Regions from separate parts of the Homo sapiens genome. Here region 2 is linked to region 1. Evidence: promoter capture Hi-C in 16 types of primary human blood cells and fetal thymus (Javierre and others, 2016). All regions are on one chromosome and are shown on one strand. The core of a region is centred on a gene start or on the middle of the fragment in contact, and the rest is flanking DNA. Distances in the headings are between cores, read along the strand shown. Region 1 holds the start of TMA16 (translation machinery associated 16 homolog). Region 2 has its middle 350 kb from the start of FSTL5.

The links. Contacts are between HindIII fragments. The CHiCAGO score rates a contact against its expected background, and 5 or more counts as called.
Region 2: a fragment that was not itself captured here is called in contact with the fragment with the promoter of TMA16 in region 1 in 1 of 17 cell types (M2 macrophages); the score reaches 6.1 in M2 macrophages.

What each region holds. Positions count from the first base shown.
Region 1 is chr4:163,491,165-163,497,684 of GRCh38, forward strand. TMA16 (translation machinery associated 16 homolog) reads left to right here and starts at 3,526. Exons shown (of 7, transcript NM_018352.3): 1 at 3,526-3,640. The coding sequence starts at 3,638. LOC124900805 (a long non-coding RNA gene) reads right to left here and starts at 4,060. Exons shown (of 2, transcript XR_007058354.1): 1 at 3,998-4,060; 2 at 850-3,732. RefSeq lists a cis regulatory region at 1,864-2,135 and enhancers at 3,417-4,319, 3,783-3,922, 3,953-4,102. The HindIII fragment of the contact is 17,381 bases long and covers 1-6,520 here.
Region 2 is chr4:162,508,999-162,515,518 of GRCh38, forward strand. No RefSeq gene overlaps it. Among named protein-coding and RNA genes, the nearest start is that of FSTL5, 350 kb to the left of the region's middle. The HindIII fragment of the contact is 2,348 bases long and covers 1,414-3,761 here.

The DNA.
Region 1 (6,520 bases), core at 2,276-4,775:
GTGATTGTTTATCTGTTTGTTCTATTATTTACTGAAAAATGGCATGCTAAAATTTCCACCAAGGCTGTTGGTTTTTCAACTTGAAACTGCATCGGCTTTTCCATTATATATTTTGGGGCTGTGTTACTAGATGCACATGAATTTAAAATGGAAACTTTTTATCATTATGAAGTGATCTTTTATATATACCATATTACTTTTTGACCTAAAGTCTATTTCGTATAACATTGATATATGTATACCAGGATTGTTTCAGTTAGCATTCACCTAGCATAACTCTTTCCATTTATTTTTCTATTTTCGTGTACCTTAGATGTGTCTTATAAACAGGATACAGTTGGATGTTTTCAATACAATCTGACTTTTTTTTAGTTGGGGGCAGTTATTTCGTAATTACTGTTTTATGGATTTAAATCTACTGCCATATTTTTTTTTGTTTTCCTGTCTTATGTTTCATGTTTTCTCCTTTATTTTCTTAGTTGGAATTACCTGAGTATATTTTAATCATTCCATTTATTTTATTTTCTCTACTTGTGTGTAGCCTGTACAAAGTTAGGTACCCTGTTTCTATTCTTTTAGTTGTGACACTAGAATTATGCATTTGTACTTATTGTATCAATACCTAATGTTAATCAATACTTAATCCTCACACATACATACAACACACACATACACACACATCTGAGTATATTTGTTAAAGTACAGGAAAATATCTCTAAAGATGTCTCCAAATCATCTACAGTGGTTATTGCACGGGGCAAAGGGGAGGTTGAATTGGGAGGGGAAAAGTTGGGGGATTCATTTTGCTTATCACAGTGGTGCATACATATATTAAACAATGACAAAACATTAGCCATCATTATTATCTTTATTCTTGCTCTGTATAATTCATGTTTGTATTTGCTACAGTGTATTTTGAACATATACAGTATATTTTTAACATGTCTATAATCAATGTTATTTAGGGGTTGAATCTGAATGAGGAAAATATGAAGATTTATTTCTAAAACTCAACTAAAAATAAAAAATAAAAGTTTCAAGATATATGGTTTATTGAGTTGTTGGCAATTTGAAGTTTAGGAATGGGTTAGGAGTAGGTAGGAATTTTATGATCAATAGAGCAATCAGTAACAGCTAAAATAGCCAGAAGGAAAATTTAATAATTAAAAGATTTGCAGTAACATAGAACTTAGGAGGGTGATCTCCACAGGGCCAGACTTAGGGAATGGGGTAGGGTGGGTGAAAGATGGCTTCACAGGAAGTGGCTAAAGTATGGAGCTAGGGTGTAAATATTCTAGATTAATTGGAGTCTTTCACAGAGTACCGTCATGTGCATGTAACAATGTTTTGGTCATGGACTGCATTACAATGGTGATCCCATGAGATTATATTTTTACTGTACATTTCTTATGTTTAGATACACAAGTACTTACCATTGTGTTACAATTGCCTACAGTATTCAGTAGAGTAACATGCTGTACAGGTTTGTGGCCTAGGAGCAATGGGCTATACCATACAGCTTAGGTGGGTAGTAAGCTATACCATGCAGGCTTGTGTAAGTGTGCTCTATGATATTCACATGACAAAAAACAAACAACAAAACCCCCATTGAAATATTTCTCAGAAAGTATCCCCGTCCTTAAGTGATGCATGAATGTGCTGCCTCCACAGTATATATTCAAAGGTGACCTTCATTGCATAGATTCACACACAAAAAAAGCCATGTGAAAATACCTTGCCCCTAGATTCAGGAATCTTCTGGACACACTCTTGTTTACAATTTAAATTATTTCCAAAAATTGATATATCTGTCGATTAAATACAAGTATTTGTGCGGCAGGAGAATAGGGTCTGGAAGCAGGGAAGCTAGGACTGATTTGTGCTGATGGGATATCAGTTGAAAGACTACTCCCCTTCAACCCCTCCTTTTTCTGCATGGCAGTTGCTGCCTGGCAGTTGCAAGCCCTTCTTTTTCTGTGTGGCAGTTGAAAAATGAAAGTGCCTCAGATTGGTCCCCTTCCTCAACCAATCAGACTTGTGGAAGACCAATGGGAAACCTCTAGAAGGTATTTAAACCCCAGAAAATTCTGCAACCTGTGCTTTTGAGCAGCTTGCCACAGCCTGCTTCCACGCAGTGGAGTAGTGTACTTTCATTTAAAATAAATCTCTGCTTTCGCTGCCTTGCTTTATTTGTGTGTTTTGTCCAATTATTTGTTCAAAACGCCAAGGACCTAGCCAACTACCCTCAACTGTTAACAGCTGCACACACATATCAAGGCACACCAGCTTCACCCTGCCTGGAGCTTCTTCCCATGCCTAGTTTTCTCTTACAATTCCGGTCTCTGCTCAATTATCACTTCTAAAAGAGGACTTTATAGAGACCACCATGTGTAAAACAGCTTTTCTACATGCCCCCGCCAGCTAATTTTTATTAGAGTACTTATATTATTTGAAATAATATTTTTACATGCCTCCATCCCCTGGAAAATGAGCTGAGTGAGGGATATTGTTGGAGTATCCCCAGTACCAGGCACACAGTAGGCATTCAATAAATAGTTTTTGAATGATTACATTGTCTACGGAATTCTAACATGTATGGGTGAAACAAAGACTCTCACATGCTGTGAGAAGAAAACAAAAACTGGGTTGGCAGAGGCCTTGAATATGAGGAAGTGGCCTTTCCGGATAAAGAAACTAAGACTCGGCCGGGCGTGGTGGCTCAGGCCTGTAATCTCAGCACTTTGGGAGGCCGAGGCGGACGGATCACCTGAGATCAGGAGTTCGAGACCAGCCTGGCCAACACGGCGAAACCCCGTCTCTACTAAAAATACAAAAAAAAAAAAAAAAAAAAAAAATTAGCCGGGCGTGGTGGCGGAGGCCTGTAATTCCAGCTGTTCGGGAGGCTGAGGCAGGAGAATCGCTTGAACCCGGGAGGAAGAAAGAAAGAGGGAATGAGGGAAGGCGGGAAAGAGGGAAAGAAGAAAAGAAAAGAAAGGAAAGAGAAGAGGGGCGGGGCGGGGCAGGGCAGGGCAGGGCAGGGCAGGGCAAAAAAAGACTCAGTGCAGGAAAGGACTTGCCCAAGGTAATCTAGTACGTGGAAAAGCGGAGGGCAGGAGCCTGTGCCGTGCAAGAGCTCCGGGGAGCCAACACCGAGCGGCCCTTTTGAGAGGGTCCCAGCCCCTGAGATGCGGGAGCCCGCAAGAGGGAACCTCTTGTCTGAAGAGGTTGCTGCGCTCTGGAGTCGTGCTCTGGGACAGATGGGCAAGCTCCGCTCTTGGGGCCGGAAGCGTGTAGCGTCTCCACCCGGGCTCCAATCCCCAGCCTCGCACTCAGCACCAGGCAGAGTTCAGCCTCCCGCCGCAAGCTCCCTTCCGCCGCTCCCGGCGAGCACGCAGGTCTGGCTGTCCGTTGGGCTAGAGCTTAAAAGCCCAACACGGGCGAAAAAGACGCGGTCTCAGTTAACGGGGACGCTTTAGAGAAACGCACTCGCCTCTCCTGTTCCGGTTGGGTCGGCGCGGGCTTCTCAGGCGCCACGTGGGATTCGGCCCGGGTGCTCTTGTGAGCTGCTGCTCCTGCGGTTGGTGAGATTACCTGGGTCTAGAGTGCGGAGCTGCTCCGTGGCCACGAGGACGTCACCATGGTGGGCCCCCTCCTGCTCCCCCGAACCGCTCGGTTGGTTCCCCGGAAGGCTCTTGTTGAGCAGGCAGAGAGGGAGGGTGCGGTTTCGGGAACCTAGGAGAGGGGAGGATGCAAAGTGTTTATTTTCAGGGAGTGTGCGGGGTGCGGGGCGAAGCCTCTGGGAGGCGAGTCCCAGGCCCAACGCCTGGACCTTAGAGTTCCGCGTCCGAGTGCTGAAGTGCTCACACGTCGCCTTGCTCCTCTTTGCCTTGTGCCTAACTTCTCGCTAGTCACTACTTCCTGGGGGAAACCCGGCACCTTTCCATTGTAACGCATCGAGGAGTTTGGCAAAACTTCTGAGATCGCTGGCCCTACACACCTCTGCCTCTCTGGCCTGGGTAGACTCAGTATGTGGGCTTAGTCGCCTCTTCCTCGGCGTCCGTTCACCTCTCGTTAGTGCCCTGAATCCTGCCGTTACGCCCCCATTCGCTCCAGGGCACTGAAGCAGTTTTGTTGTTTTTATTAAAAACTGAGTAGATACAAAAGAGTGTTACTAAAGCACATTTCAAGTGTAAAGATGAACAGTTTCAGGAATTCTCGTTTACCCATTTTGTAGTTTTAAGAAATAAAACATAGCCTTTGAAAGCCCTGTGTTACCTTCTTTGAACTTTCAGGAAACCTTAAGAAGCAAACATTATCTAAGTTTTGTATTTATAATTTCACTACTTTTCTTTATAGTTACTACATATATTTGTATTTTGAAACAGTATGTTGTTTCTTGCCTATTTTTTACGTAATCGTTGTGTTCTTGAGAGTAATTCTTGCATAGAAACATGCTTTATAAATTTTTTTCAATTAATTTTTAATAAAAGCAAAATTTTAAAAGTTTATAATCTGGTCAGAAGTTACGATATTGTGTCCACAATGTGGCCTCTTTGTTTCTTTTCATTTTTTTCTCTTTTCATTGTATGCCATTTTTGTCTTACAGTCTGGTTCTTTCGTTGTTTCGCGAGTTTTTTGTGCTTTATTTTGATCCACTGCTGACGCATATTTTGTACTTTAGATTGTACACATTTGTGTAAATTCAGTGTTTGCTTGTCACTTTGCTTGTGGGATTTCCAACTCTTTATAGTGTTAGTTTTTTTCCCCTTTTCAGAGTGGAATATGAAAGCAATTACATCTCATTGTGTTTGAGTGATTGGGGAGATAGATTGGTATTTGACTGTAGTTGTCCTTGACTATCAGAGCTTCACTTTTTATCAGGCTGTATAGTAGAAGTACGTTGCTTTGGCATAGAAGTCAAAAGAGTGGCATATGAACCTGTTTTCATTGGCTCATTTCTGGCTCTGTCATTTTTTTTTGATATAACCTCATTAGTGGTTTTGCTGCATCCTCTTTCAGTACAGCTCAGAATGTGGTCCCAAAGGACAGAGTTGGGCACCTGTCTTTCCCTGAGTTGCCATCTTGGCAAAATTACTTAACCTCCCATCTGTTTAATTGGGATAACAATAGTACCTACCTCATAGAATTGTGGAAATTAAATGTAAAGTGCTTAGTCTAGTGCCTGGCACTTAGTAAATGTTATTGTTATTAACTTTAGTTATATAAATAGTAACAGTGTACAGCTTATAGTTGTTCATCCTTGTTACTTTGCTCATTAATGTTCTCTTATTGTAAATCTTTGCTGGAGCTTAGCAAGTTCATATCTTTATATCAAAATTTAGTTTACCTGTTATATATAAATAATCTTTTCAAATTAATCCATTCCACTCAACACTTCTTTATGCTGCATTAAAAAGGTTTTTAGTGTTTATTATTTTTTATTTTTTTTTGAGACGGTGTTTTGCTCTTGTTGCCCAGGGTGGAGTCCAGTGGCATGATCGCGGCTCATTGCAACCTCCGCCTCCTGGATTCAAGTGATTCTCCTGCCTCAGCCTCCCGAGTAGCTGGGGTTACAGGTGCCAGCCACCACACCCAGCTAATTTTTGTATGTTTAGTAGAGACAGGGTTTCACCACATTGGCCAGGCTGGTCTCGAACCCCTGACCTCAAATGAGACAGGGTTTCACCACACTGGCCAGGCTGGTCTCGAACTCCTGACCTCAAATGATCCACCCGCCTTGGCCTCCCAAAGTGCTGTGATTACAAGTGTGGGCCACCGTGCCCAGCCAGGATTTTAGTATTTTTAAGTATGGCTCATACAATACTACTAGGCACCCATGGGTATACTCCTTTTTATATAAACCTGTCATAGAGCTTGTGTGTGCTTCTTTCCCTCCCTAGCTAGACTATATACCATTGAAAAGTGTGCCATCATCCTCCGTGCATTTATCCATGCACATTACTGTGGGGCATTAGCTGTTACTGACTACCTTAATGGTAGAGATTGTGTGTTTTGGGGACTACATCTATAAATGTGAGCCACAACAACAAATCAGCTTAATACATCTCATAGAGATTATCTGTTAGTGAAAACTTGCTCCTGAAAGTTAGTAAAACTAAAGAAAAACATTAATGGAAATCTACCTAGTATACCAATCTTTTTGAGACAATATTACTTGTACATGGTTTAAAACACTAAAAAATGGTTTCTCATAAAAATTGTATTAGTTTCTTATTAACTGCCATAGTAAAGTGATATGCATTTAGTGGCTTAAAGCAACACATTCATTTCCTGAAACCTCTGGAGGTCAGAAGTTCAAAAATGAGTCTTAACTGAGATAAAATTAAGGTGTTTGTCAGGGCTGTCTTTCTTTAAGGGGCTCTAATGAATTTTTCTGTTTCTAGAGGTCATCTACATTCTTTGGCTCCTTCCCTCTTCAAATCCAGCAGCATGGCATCTTTAAATTTTCCCCCAGAGAAGGTTACATTTTCTCTGACAGTGATCCTCCTGCCTTCCTCTT
Region 2 (6,520 bases), core at 1,338-3,837, 980 kb before region 1:
AGAGACACCAATAGACAAAGACAATTTTTTTCTAGCAGTTTTAGTCTTACGGGAAGGAAAGAAATATATGAGGAGTAGCTGAAAAACAAATCTGAGCTCAAATGAGATTATTTTAAAGATATTTATGTTAAAATATGTTTGTGTTTTGATTAGAGTATTTCAAAAGAGATAAGACAAATTTTATGCAGAAGACAGAATGCAAGGTAGAAGTCTTAGGAATGTGATAGTAAGCAAAGTCTAATTCAAAATTAAATTGGCCCTAGAGAGAGAGGAGAAATATTCCATTTTCATGTCAATCCCTACAAGGACTATCTTATTACAGATGCAGGTAGGTTGGCGGAGTTGGTGGTAGAAGGATGATTTTATTTTTCACTGATCTTACTTTTTAGTGAAATGTGAAAAAGGCAACACTTCAAATTGAGAAATGTGGAGAATTTTAGGAAACTTGAGGAAAGAGGATATGGTATAAAAAAGCCATTTTAGGAAAAGAGAAAATGAATTTACCAAGAAAGTAAAGTACTCTATATTTGCTGAGTATTCATTTTTAAGTTTTGTTCATGAAGTTTATATGAGCCCAGTGAACCTGGTTGTGTGGTGTGTTTCTGTCAGTGCTCAGCTGCTTCAGTTGAATTATAATGTAGATAGGTAGTTGGGTTTGGCCAAAGGCCTGACAGGTGTGAATAGCAGAAGGAAAAAAGAATAGAAAATTTTCCATGATATTATTATAGTGCTGGACCATGAAATCTCAGTTGGGTGACAAATATGAAGCCATAAAAGGGATAATAGATTATGAATTATAGTGAAAAAATGGTAAGTTCACTGAATTGGAGGTCTTAATGAGGTCAAATAATTTTGGAGTGGGATCACAAGAATAGGAAGAGATAATAAATTGCAAGGGTTGGGGTCAAGGTCATGGCAAGGTCTAGGGTGTGCACATTTGAGTACACAGCTGTGGTGGCTTTTCTTTTGTGGTGATAGAGAGCAAAGAAGGCAGGGAGCAGTGCTGTATCATCAGCACAGCAAGAGCATCAAAACCAGCCTTATTGCTTTCACTCTTTTCCTCCAACATTCAACCCTAATCCTCACATGAAGAATCAGTGTTGGGCAGGCAAACCAGAATATGCTCACACCCTCAGCTTAAAACTCTTCAATGTCTCTCATTGTTCTTGGATAAAGAGCACAGTTCTTAAAATGGCCTCTAACACCATGTATTGACAGGCCTTGGCTGAGCTATCTTGCCAGCCTCATCTAAACAAAGCGCCCCTTCCTGACTTTGCTCCAGGCCTTGGGGCCTTCTTTCTGTTTCTCGAATGTGTGCTGTGCTTTCTGCCTGTGCTCTAGTGTTCTCACTCCTCAGTGAATCAGCTCTCCTGACCCCTTCAGGTGTCAGCTTGGTCAGCAATTCCTTGGAAAAGCTTTTCCAGACCTTCCGAACTACCGCAAACCTGATCCTCATGCCTCCAGAGTTCAGAAATGCAAAATAAAAAATAAAGATCATGTCCTACACTTCACAAATGTAATATATCAAAAATATACCAGTTTAGTGAGGTTATGGGAAAATATGCCCTGTGTTCTTTCCATTTCTTCTTCCACAAAGGTCTTTCCATTTCCTCTTCATCATTATAGCTCTTATACATTGCTGATTAAAGCACATGTGAGCTATAATGTGGGTTTTATACACCATTAAATTTATAAAAAGGATAAAAAGCACATATACACTATGAAACAAATTTTGTAATAATACAATACTAATAAGAGCATAATTTTGGTATATATTGCTGGAAAGTGAATAAATATATACCTAAAAGAGGAAGAACCACTATTATAACTGTATGTTTCAGTCAGTGGCAATATAAAGTATACTCAGAAAATATGCCCTTTAAATACTATGCTATATTAAGGCAATACAATTCATTCTTAGAATAATTTCAAAATTCACCAAAATGCTTAAAGATCTCTATAGATTATGTTTGGATAGAGAAACTTCAAATTAGTTTCTGGAAAATGAATTTAATGCGTTGAGTAGAATTAGAGAACAGACTCTCACTAAAAGCCTAGACCTATTTTCTGGAAATTTCCGTTGACTGTAACTAATGCAGCCACTTACTCTAATGCTATGTTTAGTTGTACTCTGCCACCACTCAGTTGTTTCTATCTGGCGTATCATGTGTGCTTATCCTCTCAGAGGTGGGCTATTCCAGGAAATTGCCTGTCAGACATCTGAACATCTACTGTTCTGGGGGTAATCTGGCTTTTTCCTATATTATTAGGTGAATTAGACAAAGAGATTTGTGCCTTATGAAAAAAACTCAATCAGATTTAAAAATATATAAAACATTCTTATCTATAAAAACAGAATAGATGGATAGAATTAAACTCTAATTATAGACATTGTCATACAAAGAAACATGCAAAATTAGAAAACTAGAACAAATGAGCATTTTGTGTTTTAATTTTTACCTAGAAGAAGAATTGAAAAAGTATACTTATTTTTAAATGAGAAAAAAAAACACTAATAAAAGTCAGGAAAAGGAAAAAACAAACATACCTGACTTTTCTCATTGTGTTCTATTTTAGATCCTAAGCACAAGTTATTTACTTTTTTAGACTTGGGTGTGGAGATTAAAGAGAAGGGACCGTAATATATAAGAGACAGCTCTTGGGATTTATCATCAATCACCTTGGGGTCATATTCTGATCAATCATGTAATCTCAGATAAATTACGTCCCATGTCTAAATTTTTGTTTTCCATAAATATAAGATGGAGATAATGAACATTCTTGTCCTATGTGCTTCCTAGGGTTGAGTCTATGATAAAATGTGGTAATGTATGTAGCAATTCTTTATAAATTACTAGGCAAATAATAATTATATTATCATTGTGTTAATTCTGAGTTTGGAAGGGGATCCTCCAATTCTCTGCAAATACTGATGCCATAAAAATTTATGAAGATCATTAAGCCTTATTCACTGCTTTGTGGAAGAGGAAATTGAAAGAACACAGGACATACTATACTATTGGACGTTTCTTTAGAATTGTCCTTGATGGCAATTTGGATTCCAAGTGGCTACTTCACCACTGTGCTATGAATGCAAGAACTGAAGCCTGCACAATGAAGCCCGAGCTTTTGAGGTGAATCTTATCTTGTTAGGGTGAGGTGGACAAAGAATGATATTAAAAGTGTATTTCTAAAAGACAGGATATGCAAGACCTTTAATGTCAATCTCTTATGGGAAGTATCACATTTTTATTCTGTATAAAGAATTGTGTTTTCATTATATCTCTGCATGTTAAAATATAGAGAAATCTGGTCAACAAGTGTGGAAATTCAATGAATCTATTAGCCATCACCTTTAGCTGTGGACTTTGGCCATGTTTGGCTATTTGCCACATTCAGTTAAGGAATCTTACAGGGAATAGATTTAGTAGGACTGTGAGGAAAGACTTAGGAATAATTTAAGGAATAAAGCTCTTGGGTTGGTCAAGAAGGATCTAAACTTAAGGGTCTAGGATGCAGGTCTTTATTTACTACAGATAGAATAACGGAAAAGAATAAGCAAAATAAAAATGTTAAAAATAGTAGACAGAAGAAACAATGGGCACTGTATATCTGTCCCCTAAGAAAATGCCAAATTCAAATCATCCTCTGGAGTTAAGTTGCCCTTTTCTCCTATCCTGTCTCCCACGTGAATGAAATGGACACAGAGTTTCATTTTCAGTGGACGCGTACATTTGCAGTATCTCAATGGGTTATAAACAAGCTTCATATAAAGGTAGTAAAATGTATTATTAACCCCCAAAGATATAATTGCCTTGTACATAAGGCAGTGATGATAGCATAGAAATGAAAATATTCAAAAACTCTCATTTCAGGCTCAGGTGATGCAAGTAACCATGGTAACGTTTCCTGACAGCCTTAATTTAAATAGCAGATTCCAAAGAAAAAATTCCAAATGGACTCCAGAAAGGAAATGGATTATTCAAGGTCCACATAAATCTAATTTAAATAAGTGCTTTACACAAAAATGGAAAGTCTTTAAGTTATAATGTCTTTAGCTTTGTGTTCAACTTTGATAATGATTTCTTTTCTTTTGAATGTATTTATTCACAATGATTCTTAGGTAGCAATCAAAAGCTTTCTATTGCTTTCCTGGTCACTGCAATCTATGGAATGATGCTATGCCAATGTCACAGAGAACAATATATTAAAAATAGAAGCAGCATCCAAATTCACAAGAGTTTTGATATGAGAATTTTGAGCAAACCAAATAGCTAGTTAACACAGCCATTGCTTTTCAATTCCCTATGTCCACAAAGAGATACACTTTGGAGCTACACATTTACAAGAAGGACATTTCCATAAATACATACATATTACTTCTATGTAGAAGTTTGGCTCCAAATTCTTATAGGTTCTCTCACCCTATTGAGCTGGACTCATTCATCATGCATAAGCTCATTCTGACTTTTTAGAAACAGATTAGATTTGAGCCACACATAAACCTGTTCCTCCATGTTTTCTTACTTCTTTCTGTTTTTGTTCCTACTTGTCTTTCTAAGGCGGAGAGCACATTCTTAGCTGAATCTTATTATGGTTCCAAAATAGGAAAAGCACAATCGAAGAGGAGAGAGAATTTTCCCAAGCACATTTAATTTTAATCTTTTTTGTTTCAGACTTTCAACCACTACTGGTGACCACATCCTATCATTGATGAGTCTATGTCTATTACAACTTTGTATATTATATCAGTGTTCTCTTTTCTGGAAGAGAGAAGCGGCAAAAAGCATCCTTGGAATTCTCTTGACAGTGATGACACATTACTGAATATATGGATGATTGTACCTTGTGAACTAATATTTGCAATGAGGTTTTATTTTAATTCATTGTATAGATTAATAGCATCTTTCAGTCAGGGACTATGCATATTTTTTAAAAAATAAATATGAAAAATGTGACACTATATGTTTCTAAAGCATAACATGAGTATTTGTTTAAAAAAATGGGTGGGAAATAAACGTCAGGTTTGATGAAGTTCTTCAGAATCTCTCAGGCCTGTACTTGATGAATCAAGAGTGAAGAAAAAAGAAATTCTGAAATGTCTTCTTCCTTACCTCACACACATTGGCCAAAACTTCCCGATATCAATTCAAACAGCAAATCTGAGCAGGGGTGTCAATGACTCAACTACTTTCAGAACTTAATAGAAATGACCTTGCATAGGCAACTCGTCTAACTCTTTGAGGAAAACTGATCAATTTAAGTTCATTTCACTTAATTTCAATGGATATTTGGCATTCTCTTGCTTTAATCAATCCCATGATTCAAAAGAAGCTATCAAAACCACTGTGATTTGTTTTCAAATTTCTCAAAATTTGAAAGTCTGCATTCAAACCTTCACAGCAATGCTTTATAAATAAAACAACAAAAAATTTAAACATGAATATTTCACGCAACTGGGCCTATGTTATTATCACAGCACTATATTCAAATATTCAAAGCCCATTATGGAAATACATTATGAGCTTGTAGCATCATTTTTGTATTTTTTTCTATATGACTTATGTATTTTTTATAGTACAGTGATATCTAAGTGTATTATCATTCTCTAAAACTCTTTTACATGATTACACATTTTCAAGGTAACTCAAAAAAATTCCTAAAACACTGATTTGTCATGGAACCTCGTGGGTATTTTAACACCAGAGAAATATCATTCATTCTACTCTACAAAAGGTGTGGTCTCTAACCCATGTTTAACTTAGTTAAAAAAAATCTGACGTATGTATATTACATTTTCTTTTGTGTCAAATACAAATTCTTAGAACATGTTTTAGTTCACATCTATTATGTATGAAAGTGCAAGAAGTCCTGGAATTTTCTGAGAATAGGGCATCCAGAATTTGAGACATTTGCAAATTTGTACTGGAAGTATAATTACAAGCCTTCTATTTTTGTCAGTGTTTTGACATTTCTAGTGGTTATCTTGCTATGTGCCGCATGTGTAATAAAGGGTTTTTTTCGCCTTTTTTTTCAGTTAGGCTATCATAGCTAAAAAATTTAAATAAGAGTGTTAGTAGAGATTTTACTTAGATACCCAAGTTATTCCAAGAAATAGGCCACTTGATGATGATAGTCCAACTATTACTCAGATGATGTTAAAGGACTGCAACTTGAGTGTGTTATTGTGTAGATGAATAATGCTTGCCCAAGATTCAAACTGAACAGTAAGAAAAGACACAAGAAAAGGTTAAATTTCAGTTTAGGTGGTCATTTTTAATGCTGGTAACTATCACTCCATAATTTTTCCAAACTTTCATTATTTGCACCGAAATTACAAAGCTGTGATTGGTAAACACAGATTAGTTAGGAAAATATGTGTAATATTTGAGAATAAAATCCTTATACTGATGTAAACACCAAATCCTATAAACAGTAGGTCCTGTCACAGGTTTACTTCCCCCAAAAGAAATGGAGCTGGCTTAGCCTTCTTGGAGGCAATTTCCAAATTTCACCCAAC